Regions from separate parts of the Homo sapiens genome. Here all the other regions are linked to region 1. Evidence: promoter capture Hi-C in 16 types of primary human blood cells and fetal thymus (Javierre and others, 2016). All regions are on one chromosome and are shown on one strand. The core of a region is centred on a gene start or on the middle of the fragment in contact, and the rest is flanking DNA. Distances in the headings are between cores, read along the strand shown. Region 1 holds the start of CCN5 (cellular communication network factor 5). Region 2 overlaps OSER1-DT (OSER1 divergent transcript). Region 3 overlaps HNF4A (hepatocyte nuclear factor 4 alpha).

The links. The method cuts DNA at HindIII sites, captures the fragments that hold promoters and counts their contacts. A CHiCAGO score of 5 or more calls a contact.
Region 2: a fragment that was not itself captured here is called in contact with the fragment with the promoter of CCN5 in region 1 in 4 of 17 cell types (naive CD8 T cells, monocytes, fetal thymus and 1 more); the score reaches 7.3 in naive CD8 T cells.
Region 3: a fragment that was not itself captured here is called in contact with the fragment with the promoter of CCN5 in region 1 in 6 of 17 cell types (total CD8 T cells, naive CD8 T cells, fetal thymus and 3 more); the score reaches 10.9 in total CD8 T cells.

Annotation. Positions count from the first base shown.
Region 1 is chr20:44,712,829-44,717,290 of GRCh38, reverse strand. CCN5 (cellular communication network factor 5) reads right to left here and starts at 1,922. Exons shown (of 4, transcript NM_003881.4): 1 at 1,841-1,922. The coding sequence starts at 1,900. It overlaps KCNK15-AS1 (KCNK15 and WISP2 antisense RNA 1), which reads left to right. Exons shown (of 5, transcript NR_132377.1): 4 at 498-666. LOC124904911 (a long non-coding RNA gene) reads left to right here and starts at 2,517. Exons shown (of 2, transcript XR_007067598.1): 1 at 2,517-3,350. RefSeq lists a silencer at 2,329-2,623. The HindIII fragment of the contact is 18,609 bases long and covers 1-4,180 here.
Region 2 is chr20:44,216,952-44,221,413 of GRCh38, reverse strand. The region is part of intron 2 of OSER1-DT (OSER1 divergent transcript); the gene reads right to left. Among named protein-coding and RNA genes, the nearest start is that of OSER1-DT, 8.2 kb to the right of the region's middle. The HindIII fragment of the contact is 2,529 bases long and covers 724-3,252 here.
Region 3 is chr20:44,380,504-44,384,965 of GRCh38, reverse strand. All of the region lies in intron 1 of HNF4A (hepatocyte nuclear factor 4 alpha), which reads right to left. It overlaps HNF4A-AS1 (HNF4A antisense RNA 1), which reads left to right. Exons shown (of 3, transcript NR_172878.1): 2 at 294-443. Among named protein-coding and RNA genes, the nearest start is that of HNF4A-AS1, 13 kb to the left of the region's middle. The HindIII fragment of the contact is 3,770 bases long and covers 343-4,112 here.

The DNA.
Region 1 (4,462 bases), core at 673-3,172:
CTCATGTGATACCATATGTATGTCATGTGCCAAGTGCTGTTGTCTCATTTACCCCTCCAATGTGAGGTGCCATCATTATGCCCATTTTAAAGATGAGAAAACTGGAGCTCAAACCGTGTAGTAACACAGCCAGTAAGAGACAGAATCAGGATTGACATCCAAGTTCAAGTTGACATCCAAGGCCCAAACTCAAGTTGTCCCATTGTGCCTCAGTTTCCCCAGGGCCTTGCTGTGATATCTGGTGGTGGGGGGCAAGGCTCATGATATCTGGGGCAGGAGTACTGGGCATGGAGTTTTTTGGGCAAGAGTTGAGATTCAAGTTCTGCCAGTGACTTGCTACGTGACTGAACATGTGGACAAACGGCTTTGGAAGGTGGAGGTGAAGCTCAGTTTTCTCCTCTGTAAACTGGAGTAGAGACAACCTGTTTCTGAGTGATGATGGAGATTAAATGAGGTTCTGGCCAGTCCTTGATCAATGTGATTTTGCTTGTGTCCAGGTGTCTGCCTCCTGCCCCGGTCCACAGCCAGGAGCCCCGGAGCCAACGGCCAGCCTGGAAGACTTACAGTTCTCCCTCTGAGGGTTGCTGTGGCTTTCCATGTTGTGGTGACTAAGTCCCTGTGTTTCTGTGCAGTCCCTGCTTCCTGGGACCAGGGAAGAATGGTCCCGTAAGTCTCACCCTAATGGCAAGTCTAGGACAGCTTTACTTTGTTCTCGTATAATCCTGGGCCCCTTCTCCCTCCTAGAGCCCCAAGTCCCCTATTCCAACTACCCAAGCCACCCACACTGGCATCATGCCCTACCCATCCCCTTTGGAAGAACAAACAGCAGGACAGGATGCCAGCGTGGTTCTCAGGCTTCCCAGGCACGAAGACTTGGAGCCTGAGGGAGAGAAGCTCCTGCCCGTGCTCCTCAAAGGAGCGTGAAAATACAGTGAGATCGTGGCTTGTGGTGGGGCCGATTCCATGGCTCTGGGAACTCAGCATTTGCCGAGGGGATGACAAGGCTTAGCAGCTGTGGCCTTGGTCCAGTTTGGGCTTGGGGAGGCACAGACTGGAGTGCTTCTCCCCCTACATCCATGTCATTCTGGGCTCCACCATGGCTCTCCTCTATTGCTCTGACCTTTCTTTGCTGTGTGGCTTTGGGCAAGTTGCTTACCCTTTCTGAGCCTCACTTGACTGAAAACTGGGGTTGCAAGTTGCTTACCCTTTCTGAGCCTCACTTAACTGAAAATTCCTTATGGGATTGTTGTGCATGTTAGACAAGGTAGATGTCCCACAGGCTCTTTGGTGAATGTCCCATGCAGCATTCAGGGATAAGGCCATTACTCCACAGAGGTGTCTCCTGTTCCCCTCTAGCTAGGGCGGGCGGGTCACTCACTGCCTAAGAGTCCAACAGCATTGATGCCCTTGCAGAATGAACCTTCCAATCAGCTAGGCATCCATCCAAATGCTGGCTCAGAGTTAGGCCAAGCATGTCATGTCTTGAGTGCCCCCATTCATAATGAGGATACATTAAAGTCCTCTTCAATTTGCCTGGTAAGTTTGATGAATGATCATGAATGGTCTTCACAGAGGCCTCACAAACTGTATACCCTTCACCTGGGAAGATGCTGAGGCCCAGAGAAGGCAAGACACATATCTGAGGTCACACAGCAGGGCTGGCCGGAGGCAGCTCTGAGTTCCAGGGAGAGAAGCCCTGCTTAGGCATGGGGGCCAGACTGTGCCCAATGTGGGGCCCTGGAGGAATTCTGCCAAGGGGGTCCTTGGCTGCGATTTTACATCCCCACCCCCTCCACACCCAAATAGTCAGCAGTGCATTCCAGGGCCCGGGCCTCCTTACCTTTGAGAGGAGGCAGAGGAGGGAGAAGGCCAGGAGGTGGGTCTTCGGTGTGCCTCTCATGTCCCCTGCAGAGCCAGCTTTGAGCCTGGGAGGCGGACCTGTGAGTCTTTATGTTCCGGCAGCTGTGAGGTCACTCCCAGGCACACACAGGCACACGCACGAGTACACACGCGCGCGCGCGCGCGCGCTCACACACACACACACACACACACACACACACAAACACACTAGCTTTTTCATTCCTTGCTTCGCTTCCCATCCTCATGGCTCAAAGGATGAGCCCATTTACCTGAAGGTGAAACTGTGAAGGCCACCAAGGGGGTGCCTGTCCGTGTGTGTGTGTGTGTGTGTGTGCGCGTGTGTGTGTGTGAAAGCCTGAGCCAGTGCCAGCACCAAGAGCCTGTGACAGCTTGCAGAGGCCTCTCCAGCTCCTTCCAGCCCAAGAGGGTCCTAGCCCTGCTGTAGTTGTGAAGCCCTATTCCAGACCCCCTGTCCGAACCCCAGCGGGGCTGCAGATACCAGAAGCATTCAGTAAACAACCCCTTTGCAGAGCTGACCCAAGGTCTCCTAAGCTCCGTGGCCCTGACTCTGGGTAGCCGCGGCCCAGCCTGCGGTTTCTGGCAGGCAGATTGGCAGCCACCCAGAGGTGGGTGTGACCCAGAGCAAAACTTCCCTGGGCGGCCTGTTTGCTCTTGGCAATAAGGGGCCTCCCTTGGCCTGCCTCCCGGCTCTGGAAGGGGGCCCGTGGTGGGCGAGTCCGGGCAGGCTGGACCTACTATGTGCCAGCGCTTGCTGGGCACCGCTAGATGATGGGGTCAAGCCAAATCCATTTGGTTTCATTCGGCCGCCTCTGAGTTCGCCTCTGCAGGAGCTGGAGGCACAACACTGACCTGAGGACAAGGCCCAGAGAGGGAGAAAACAGAGGGAAAACAGGTGGAAGTTCAGGAATACCAGGCAAGGTCCCTTGCTCAGACCAAGAGTGAGGGACACTTTCTGATGGAGGTGCCATTTCAGAAAGCCAAGAAAAGAGAGGGTGAGAGAGGGCAGAATGTTCCAGGCCAAGGGAACAGTACGTACCAACGCCTAGATGTCGGACATAGCATGATAGCCTGCTTATTCTGGGAGCCAAAGCGCCTGGTATGAGTGGAGCCTTCTGTGCAACGGGAAATGGTGATGTCTGTGAAGGGTGAGACACACAAGTTCACATCACCAAGATTTGGGGACATCTACTATGTGCCAGCCATGGGGGCGGGGGACAGAAAGACATGGGCTTTGTTTGTAGAATTTGGCAAAGATAAAAGAGGTGATGTCAAGGGCTGTCTGGGGCCCCCATTACCTCCACCAGTAGTTGTCCAAACCTCAAAGTGATCTAGCTGGATAGCAGAGGTTCCAGAATGGGCGATTGGTGAGGAAGAAGTGTGACTTGATATAGTGGCAAGACGGGGATTGTGAGCATGGAGGAGATTCCCCACGGGTGCTGTCCCATCGGAAGAGGCAATGGAAACGGAAGGTGAAGATGAAAGTGTGGGATTTGATTATTTATGGCAGGAAGAGGTGGCCAGGGTGGAGATGGGGGTCTGGAAACTTGGAGGAAAAGAAACAGAAGGGATCTTTTAAATTTTGTTTTATTTTTTGGGATTCTTGTGGAAATGCTAATGTTTTAGTCAGAAGCATGCCTAGAATAATTTACATCCACAGTGGATCATTTTTAACACCCCTCTTCCTTCATAGTACAAAATTATTTTCAGTAATAATCATGAAACAAAACAAATATTTTTCATGTATGAATTAAAATTTGCACTTACCAAACAAAATCATTACCATTCACAGTTCACACTGTTTTACTCTTTTAAAAACTGTAAATACAAATCAAAACTCCAAGTAGTTTCGTAAAATGACAAAATTGAAATACCCTTATCGTCATCTTTCCCATCATTCTGCGTTCATAGTTGATTTCACTCTACTGTTTAAACACAGAAATACAGCTGGGCCGGTGGCTCACGTCTGTAATTTGGGAGGCCAAAGTGGGAGAACCACCTGAGATCAGGAGTTCAAGGCCAGCCTGGCCAACATGGTGAAACCCGTCCCTACTAAAAAAAAAAATACAAAAATTAGCCGGACGTGGTGGGTGCACACCTATAGTCCCAAGTACTCAGGAGGCTGAGGCAGGAGAATTGCTTGAACCCGGGAGGTGGAGGTGGCAGTGAACCGACATCTTGCCGCTGCACTCCAGCCTGGGCGACAGAGAGAGACTCTGTCACACACACAAAATAATAATAAAAATAAATGCAGAAATATGAATGCTGGACGGTGGAGACAGGAATGCATTCAAAGCAAGCTTGGAAGATTCCAGAGTTGTGAGGAGCTTACTCTCAACTGATGTGTGTTCCTGAGACCACATGCTCTGGGGGCAACTATAGGATTCTTAAAGTTCTCCAAGTCAAGTTGACTTCCATGTAGAATATGTTTATTAAAGGATAAGAATAAAAATGTGCTGATTTGAAGCTTTACATATACATTATTAAACCCCAACAGTTACTGCACCAATTGTTAGAACTTAGATCAATAAAGGGTATTTTCAGGACAAAGTATTTTACCACTGAAATTATTTAGATCTGCCAT
Region 2 (4,462 bases), core at 739-3,238, 500 kb after region 1:
CTGTGGACATTAGTGTTAAAATGTGACTTCGTTGAGGCAGAAACAGTTTTCCTAACTTTCAAAATATTCCCTTTACAGAGCAAGAGGACAACCTGGGGATGAGAGGATAGAGATTTTCTATAGGCCATAGTGTGGAGATGACACAGTATAAGGTTCAGACAAGTTCCTGTACAGCAAGCAGGGCAAAAGCCTTCTGGTGCTGCCAAGGAAAAAAAAAAAGCAGGACAAGAGTTCAGGTGCAAGTGTCTACCCTCCTCGAAGGAAAACTCCTATGTAGGACTAAGAAGCATCTGGACAGGTTTGGGGGACAGTAGGATCCCACTTTCCCAAGCACAGCCCAGGGAGAGATGCCCCCCACTGACCACGTGACAGCACTAAGCTGGCACCGAAGCTGTGGTAACAGCAGCCCGTTGTCCCCTTGACCTGTGGGTGCCATGTAGGTGGTAATCCAGATGTGTCCACATGTCCCAGTGATGTGCTAAGTGGACTGAGGGACAAAGAGAGGCCAGGTGACAAGCTGCGAGGGTTGTGGCACATGAGGACCTCATGGCTACAGACAGGCAATTTTCTAAGCAGGTCCGTGTACTGCTCAGGAACTAAATCAGGTTCACCCCATTTTGGTAGGTTCCACCATAATCCGTAATGCCCGGGGACAAATTCCGAGCGACCACGTGGGAGTGAAGACCAGCAACAGGCAGGGAATGGCATCTGAGCCATAAAGCTTACCCACTGCCCCCTTATACCCAGATGCCACGCCGGGAGGATGGGAGCACACAGGAGAGAGGAGGATCCTGAACACTGAATATCTGTGCAAAACAGAGCGCTGTAAACCAGAAGAGAAGGAAATATCCCCTCAAGTTGGGAGAATGGAAGTTTGAGATGAAAATGAGATTAGATGAAAATACAGGGCTGGGTGTGGTGGCTCGTGCCTGTAATCCTAGCACTTTGGGAGGTCCAGGCGGGCAGATCACTTGAGGTCAGGGTTCGAGACCAGCCTGGCCAACATAGTAAAACACCCGTCTCTGCTAAAAATGCAAAAATTAGCCAGGAATGGTGGCGCATGCCTGCGGTCCCGGTTACTCGGGAGGCTGAGGCAGGAGGATAGCTTGAACCTGGGAGGTGGAAGTTACAGTGAGCCGAGATCGTGCCACTGCACTCCAGCCTGGGCGACAGAGCGAGACGCCATCTCAAAAAAAAAAAAAGAAAAGAAAAAGAAAAAATACAAAGGAAGTTACAGTTTTTGCCCCTGTGAGTAGGAGTGGGTCAAATATGACCCTGCCATGAAAGCCAATCAGTTTCTTTCCTGGGAATTTGAATCTTGTACGGAGAGATGTATCAGGAACAAAGATGTGTGGAACTGAATCGCCTGAGGCAATGCTCAGAGATTCCTGGCACCTGGGAAGGGCTCGGTCTGGCTCCCAGGCTGATAAGGCCTAGCTGTTTAGCTTTTCCTTTTGTTGAGTGAGCTTTCTGACATTCTTCTAGTGGATTCCTTTTTCACTCGAGCAAGTCAGATTTGTTTTCCATATTCTCCAACCCGGCATCATCCTGGAAGTGAATGTGAGATGAGAAGACAGCCAAGGCATGGCCCCTGAGGGTCAGCAGACCGGCAAGAAAAGAGGAGCCTGCAGAGGAGATAGAAAAGGTGAGGCTGAGAGGGTGCCCCTGTGAGCAGTGGCCACAGGGACTGAAAGGAGAGCGAGTGGAGGAGGCGGCTGTGTTCAGCGTCAGGCAGGGCTCAAAACTCAAGCAACATGAGAATGAGACTAGGGCCACTGTATTCAGCAACAAGGAGGTTATCCATGACCTTGGCAAGGAACGTTTTGGTGAGATAGAAGTCTGGTTGCAGTAGATTGAAGAAAGGGTGGTGAGACAGAGACACAGAGACACACACACACACACACACACACACACACAGAGAGAGAAGGGGGGTGGGTGGAGAGGGGAAGAAGTACAGCCACTGAGAGAGAGAGAGAGACAGAGAGAGACCGACCCAGAGAGAGAGAGAAGGGGGGTGGGTGGAGAGGGGAAGAAGTAGAGCCACTGGCTAAGGCTCCAACAGGGAGAAAAGGACAGGAGCTCTGTGGGGAACCTGGGTAGAAGGGGGCTTTGTGGGTTTGGGGTTTGCTTTTTTTGTTTTTGGTTTTACTATGACAGAAGACATGATGTGTGTTTGCATATACAGAAGAAAGTGAGTTTCCTGAGAAGGGAGGAGAGCTGGGATTGGTTTTAGCTAGGAGGAGGGAAAGGAGAAAGGATGGCTATAGAGACAGGCAAAGATAAGGGATGGAGAGCAAGATTTCATATCTATTGGTTTCTGAAAACACAGATATACTTTTCTGGTGAAAACTTCTCTTCTCCCCCTCAGGCAGAGTTAGATGCTCATGAATACATAAGCTGAAAATGAAATACTTTGAAAAATGATAGCTAGCTGAGTGTCAACACTTGAGGGGCAAGATTGGTTTTGAGCATATGGAGGGTAAAGAAAGAATTCTTGAGAGTTAGGCTGAGCCAGGAAACTGCAATACACTTTCCTGAACTGTGTTCAAATGTGGAGTAAGCTGAAGACTCTCACCAAGACACAGCTCAGTTCAAACTGAAAAACCAAACCCACCTATTCTTTAATTGGGCAGATATAATAATTTATGAATTCCTAAAGGCTTAGCTCAGCAGCTTTAGAGCAGGAACTCTAAACTTTGTTTTGTTTTGCACAGGTTATACACTGACATGATTCAAAAATCAGAACACAAGGTATACACTCAGAAGCCCGGCCCCTCCTGCTGGCCCCCAACCACTTCCTGAAACACTTCTTAGTTACTTGTCTAGCTTATCAGTTTTTCTTTATGAAGATAGAAGCAATACAAACATATATTCTTAGCTGTACGTCGTGCTTTTTTTCACCTATATCTTAGAGATCTTTCCTCAGCGCACACACAGCTTCCTCAAACTTTTTCCCAGTTATATAGTATTTTGCTTTGTGGATGCACCAGTCCTGTACATACACTTCAGTTGTTTCTGATCTTTTGCTATTGCAGCCAATGTTGCAATGGATCATCTTTTACATAAATTATTACATATAGGTACAAATGTCATCTACAGGGTAGACTCTTAGACTTGTAATTTTGGTAGATATTGCCCAAATCAACAGGGCTGTCAATTTCACAATCCCACTGGTAATGTATTAAAAGTCCTGCTATTTATTCTCCCGACTCCCCCACCTCCAGCCCCATCCACAGGGCATGCTGTCAAGCTTTGGGATTTCTGCCAATCTGACAGGTTAAAAATGGTATCTCCGCATACTTTTTATAAGCACTTCTCTTTGAAGATTGAGATTGAGCATTTTTTCATAAGTTTAAGTGCTATTTGTATTTCTTTTGCTGTGAACCGTCTGCTCATGTCCTTTGCTCACTTTCTCTATTCGGCTGCTGCAGGAGAAGTCCTTAACCAGTGGTCTGTGGCTTTCTCGGAGGAAGGGAGGGAGGGCTGTCTTGTGACTCAGATAAGGTTAAGAATTGTAGGGAAAAAAACCGCTCACCCTAACCTGATACCTATTTTGTGGTATACATAGAGATGTTTAAGTTTTAAAAACTTTTAACTGAAGTTTAGTTATACGCACAGAAAAATGTACATATACCACATTATAGCACACACTCCTATAACCAACATCGGGTCAAAGAACAATATTACCAGCACCCCAAAAGCCCCTCTCAACACTCCCTTCCAATCCTTACCACATGGAGATTCTTTCTTCTGCAGCTTTATTTCTTGATTCTATTCTAAAGGCAAGTGATCCACAAATCCCGGGTCTTCCACAGTTTTGAAGCCACAGTGAAGGGCTTCACCAACGGTAAGGAAAGAGGCCCTGCAGTCCTAGGGCTCCCTCTGCTGGTGATCAGCAGCTACCAGGAAAAGCTGCCCCTCCCCTCCTGGAGCTCTGAGGATTGACTGGAGTCTTGGAAATCAAATTGGTGCAGGCTTAATGGGAATCGGCACACAGGCGCATGGCTGAGGCATCAGAGTCCTCCTTTACCTCCTTTACTCTCCATCCTGTTAACATTTCGGGAAAGCAACTATCAAAACAATAGACCACAGTAGCTTGGGGGCTATGAAGAGAATGACAAGAAAGAGCGGCGAATTCCCGCTTCCCAACCCTTGCCTATTCCCCATCCACAAAAACAGGAGGCTGTTGTGAAAGGTCCTGCTGCTTGAATCAACTGTCAAAGGCATCAACAGTCCCCAGTCATGTTTCCAGAAAGCCAGTAGACAACTGGAATTATTTGCTGAGATGACTGACTGACTGATGGACTCACTGGCTCCTGTGGTAGGTACAGCTCCTATTCTGGTGGACTGCATGCGAAGTCCCATGGGACAACGGGGTCGGGCCATTTAACACACACAGGGGAGCAGGAGTTGAGGGAGGGAAAGTCAACATAATAGGTTTTTCTTGCCCTCCAGAAATTTA
Region 3 (4,462 bases), core at 978-3,477, 330 kb after region 1:
TGCTCATCAGAATAATGTTGTCAGACTGTGTTCTTTCTGGGGGATCATCACACTCCCTTTTCTGGGAACAAATGTTGGCCACTTGGTGGGATGGGCCATCATGATCTACGTCAGACAAATTCAGTGAGTCATGACTCAGCCTATCTCTCTAGACCCATCTTTTATGCCCCCTTACTTATAGTCTCTCTGAGGGCTGTTCTCAACTATTCTATTTCTCTCCTTTCCGGCACATGATGGGGATTACATTTTCTTGCTTCCTTTGAAATGAGATGTGACCATGTTACTTGTTTCAGGTAACGAGATGTGAGCAGAAACAACCTGTGTCACACCTGGGCAGAAGCTTTAAAGGCCAGTGCTGCCCTTGTTGGGGAAGCAAGTATAGATATGAATCGTTCCACAACGCGGAGCGCCCCCTGCCGACCCATGCTGGGCGTGTACTATAGGTGAGCAATTAACTTTGCTGTTCAAACCATTGAGACTTAGGGGTTTTTTTGTGGTTGCAAGCTAACTTCACTTCACTTGACTGAACACAGTCTTTCCAAAGTTTCACTAATTTTTTAATGACCATTATGATTTTTTCATATCTGTAACATTTTTCTTACATCAACTCACTTCTTTTTACTTCAATTTATTTTAGAAAGAAATATTATTACTACCAAATGAAACAGTATCATAAGTAGAAAGCAATGAGAAAATAAACAGAATGAAAGAAATCCTGATATCAAATCCTGACTTAATACTATTTGCCTTTCAAAGCCTCTGGACCTTTGGTCTTTATTTAAAAAAAAAAAAAAAAAAAAAAAAAAGGAGCCAGGGGCCAGGCGTGATGGCTCACACCTGTAATCCCAGGAATTTGGGAGGCCGAGGTGGGAAGATCACCTGAGGTCAGGAGTTCGAGACCAGCCTGACCAATATGAGGAAACCCCATCTCTACTAAAAATACAAAAATTAGCCGGGTGTGGTGGCATGTGCCTGTAATCCCAGCTACTCAGGAGGCTGAGACAGGAGAATTGCTTGAACCTGGGAGGCGGAGGTTGCAGTGAGCCGAGATCGCTCCATTGCACTCCAGCCTGGGCAACAAGAGTGAAACTCCGTCTTAAAAAAAAAATGGGAGCCAGGTGCGGTGGCTCATGCCTGTAATCCCAGCAGTTTGGGGGGCTGAGGTGGGCAGATCACTTGAGGTCAGGAGTTCAAGACCACCCTAGCCAACATGGTGATATCCTGTCTCTACTTAAAATGCAAAAATTAGCTGGGCATGATGGCATGTGCCTGTAATATCCCAGCCTCTTGGGAGGCTGAGGCAGGAGAATCACTTGAACCCAGGAGGCGGAGGTTGCAGTGAGCTGAGATTGTACCACTGCACTCCAGCCTGGGGGAGAGAGTTGAGACTCCGTATTTAAAAAAAAAAAAAAAAAAGAGGTCCCCAAGAGTACTTCTCAATCTTTTGGATCCCCAAAGCTGTCTAAGATTGTCAGAATATTTGAAGGCAGCACAGTATTGAGGCTGAGTGTACCAATTCTGGAACTTGACATCCTGGGCTTAAATTCTGGTTCAGTCATGGACTAGCTGTGTGACCCTGGACAAGTTACTGAACTGCTCTGTGACTGTTTTCTTATTTGCAAAATAGTGACCATAATGATGTGTATGGCATTAGGTCGTGGTGGGGATTATTTGTGTTAATGTATAAAAAGGGCTTAGAAGTGTGCCTGGCACTTAGTGAGTGCTATGGAGGCATTACCTATAAAATGATGGCAGGATCCAGATCCAAATAGATTTGGTGAATTATTGTTTGTTTTTTTTGAGACAGGGTCTCTGTCACTCAGGCTGGAGTGCAGTGGCGCCATCACAGCTCACTGCAGCCTCCAAGTCTCCAGGCTCAGATGATCCTCCTACCTCAGCCTCCAGAGTAGCTGGGACTACATGTGTGGACCACCACCCCTGGCTAATTTTTCTATATTTTGTAGATATGGGATTTCACCATGTTGCCCAGGCTGGTCTGGAACTCTTGGGTTCAAGCAATCTGCCCCTTCTTAGTCTTCAAAGTGTTGGGATTACAGACGTGAGTCACCCCACCCAGCCTGGAGAAATGTTTGAACTCCATGGAGATAAGTAAAAAATCCTCTGCATTGGTTAAAAATAAATCACCTGGATGATTTATTTATTTAGTGTAGATGGGAAAAGCTACCTTAGCAGAAAGTGACATAGCAAAATTCTAGAGGTTTTACTTGGTGGCAGCTGCCCAAACCTCTAACCCAGTCGTATGTATCATTAGAGAGAATGTAGTTCCCAGGTCAGAGGAGCTAAGAGGTCCTTGGCATTCTACTCCTAAGGAGCATATATGGACAATTGTGTTTAGTTTTCATTTTAATATGAATACTTAAAATTTTCCTAGGATGGCAGAGGATGAGAAAGCTATGCCCCTTAGGCCGAGTGCAGCGGCATGGCTCATGCCTGTAATCCTGGCGCTTTGGGAGGCCAAGGCGGGCGGATCACGAGGTCAAGAGATCGAGATCATGTTGGCCAACATGGTGAAACTCCATCTCTACTAAAAATACAAAAATTAGCCTTGCGTAGTGGTACGCACCTGTAGTCCCAGCTACTTGGGAGGCTGAGGCAGGAGAATTGCTTGAACCTGGGAGGCGGAGGGTGCAGTGAGCCGAGATCTCGCCACCGCACTCTAGCCCGGCAGCAGAGCGAGAGTTCGTCTCAAAAAAAAAAAAGAAAGAAAGAAAGAAAGAAAGCTATGCCCCTTGAAGAATAATCAAAGATCCAAAAGAGTTTTGGGCTGGGTATTGGAGAAGAGGAGAGAAAGGTGGTGTAGCAGAGTGGTCAGGGCCATTGCCTTTGAAATATCAGTGGTGCCATTTACATAGCTGTTGGACCTTGCTAAAATCATAAGCTCTTCAAGCCTTATTTGCTTCATCTATAAAATAGGAATCAATGATAGGACCTTTTCATAGATTGCTTTGTGGAGTAAATGTGTTAAACCTTATAAACCTGGCAGGTAGCTGCCCAGCATATAGTTGCGTTATTTACTCAATTCAAAGTACTTTCCTGCCGGGTGCGGTGGCTCAGGCCTGTAATCCCAGCACTTTGGGAGGCTGAGGTGGGTGGATCACTTGAGGTCAGGAGTTCCAGACCAGCCTGACCAACATGGTGAAACCCTGTCTCTACTAAAAACACAAAAATTAGCCGGGCGTGGTGGCAGTCACCTGTAATCCCAGCTACTTGGGAGGCTGAGGCACAAGAATCACTTGAACCTGGGAGGCAGAGGTTGCAATGAGCTGAGATCGTGCCGCTGCACGCCATCCTGGGTGATAGATTGAGACTCAGTCTCAAAAAAAAGGCAACAAAGTACTTTCCTTTGGAAAAGAGTGCCCACTGGCTGGGTGAAGTGGCTCACGCCTGTAATCTCAGCACTTGTGGGGCTGAGGCAGGCAGATCAGTTGAAGCCAGGAGTTTGAGACCAGTTTCACGTGGCCAACATGGTGAAACCCCGTCTACTAAAAATACAAAAATAAGCCAGATGTGGTGTCATGTGCCTGTAGTCCCAGCTACTCAGGAGAGTGAGACAGGAGAATCATTTGAACCCTGGAGTTGGAGGTTGCAGTGAGCAGAGATCGTGCCACTGCACTCCAGCCTGGGTGACAGAGTAAAACTCTGTCTCAAAAAAAAAAAAAAAAAAAGCTCTCACTGATTCCTACAGCTTCAGAGAATGAACGAGGACCAAAATGTGGATGCTACAGGGAGGAAACTTGAGGCTCAAAATGGAGATCTTTCTATAAAATACAATTGTTCTACCACAGGAAAAGCTGCTTTATTAAGTAGTGAGTATTCCGTCATTGGAAGTATTAAGCCCAAGCTAAATGGTCAACTGTCAGGGAAGGATGGTGAGAGGATTCCAGTGGGTTAGAGGTCAAAGAGCGTCTACCAGGTGCAAAAGTCTTAATTAACAAAGTACTATCAAAACCAAATTCATGTTTGGGAAACTGTATATCCACATGCAAAAGAATGAAATCAGACTCTTTCCTTACACCATATACGAAAATTAACTAAAAATGAGTTTGACGGAAAAGTATAAAACCTTTGGAATAAAACATAAGGGAAAAGCTTCATGATATTAGATTTGGTGATGATTTCTTGGATATGACACCAAAAGCACAGGAAATTTTTAAAAATTAGATAAATTGGACTACATCAAAATTAGAAAAATTTGTGCACCAAAGGACACTTGACTGAGTGAAAAAGCAACTTACAGAATGGGAGAAAATATTTGCCAATCATATATCTGATAAGGGGTTAATGTCCGAAATATATAAAGAACTCTTACAACTCAATAACAACAACCAAAAACTTTAAAAATGGACAAAGAGGCCAGGTGTAGTGGCTCAAGTCTGTAATCTCACCACTTTGTGAGGCAGAGGCAGGAGGATTGCTTGAGCTCAGGAGTTTAAGACCAGCC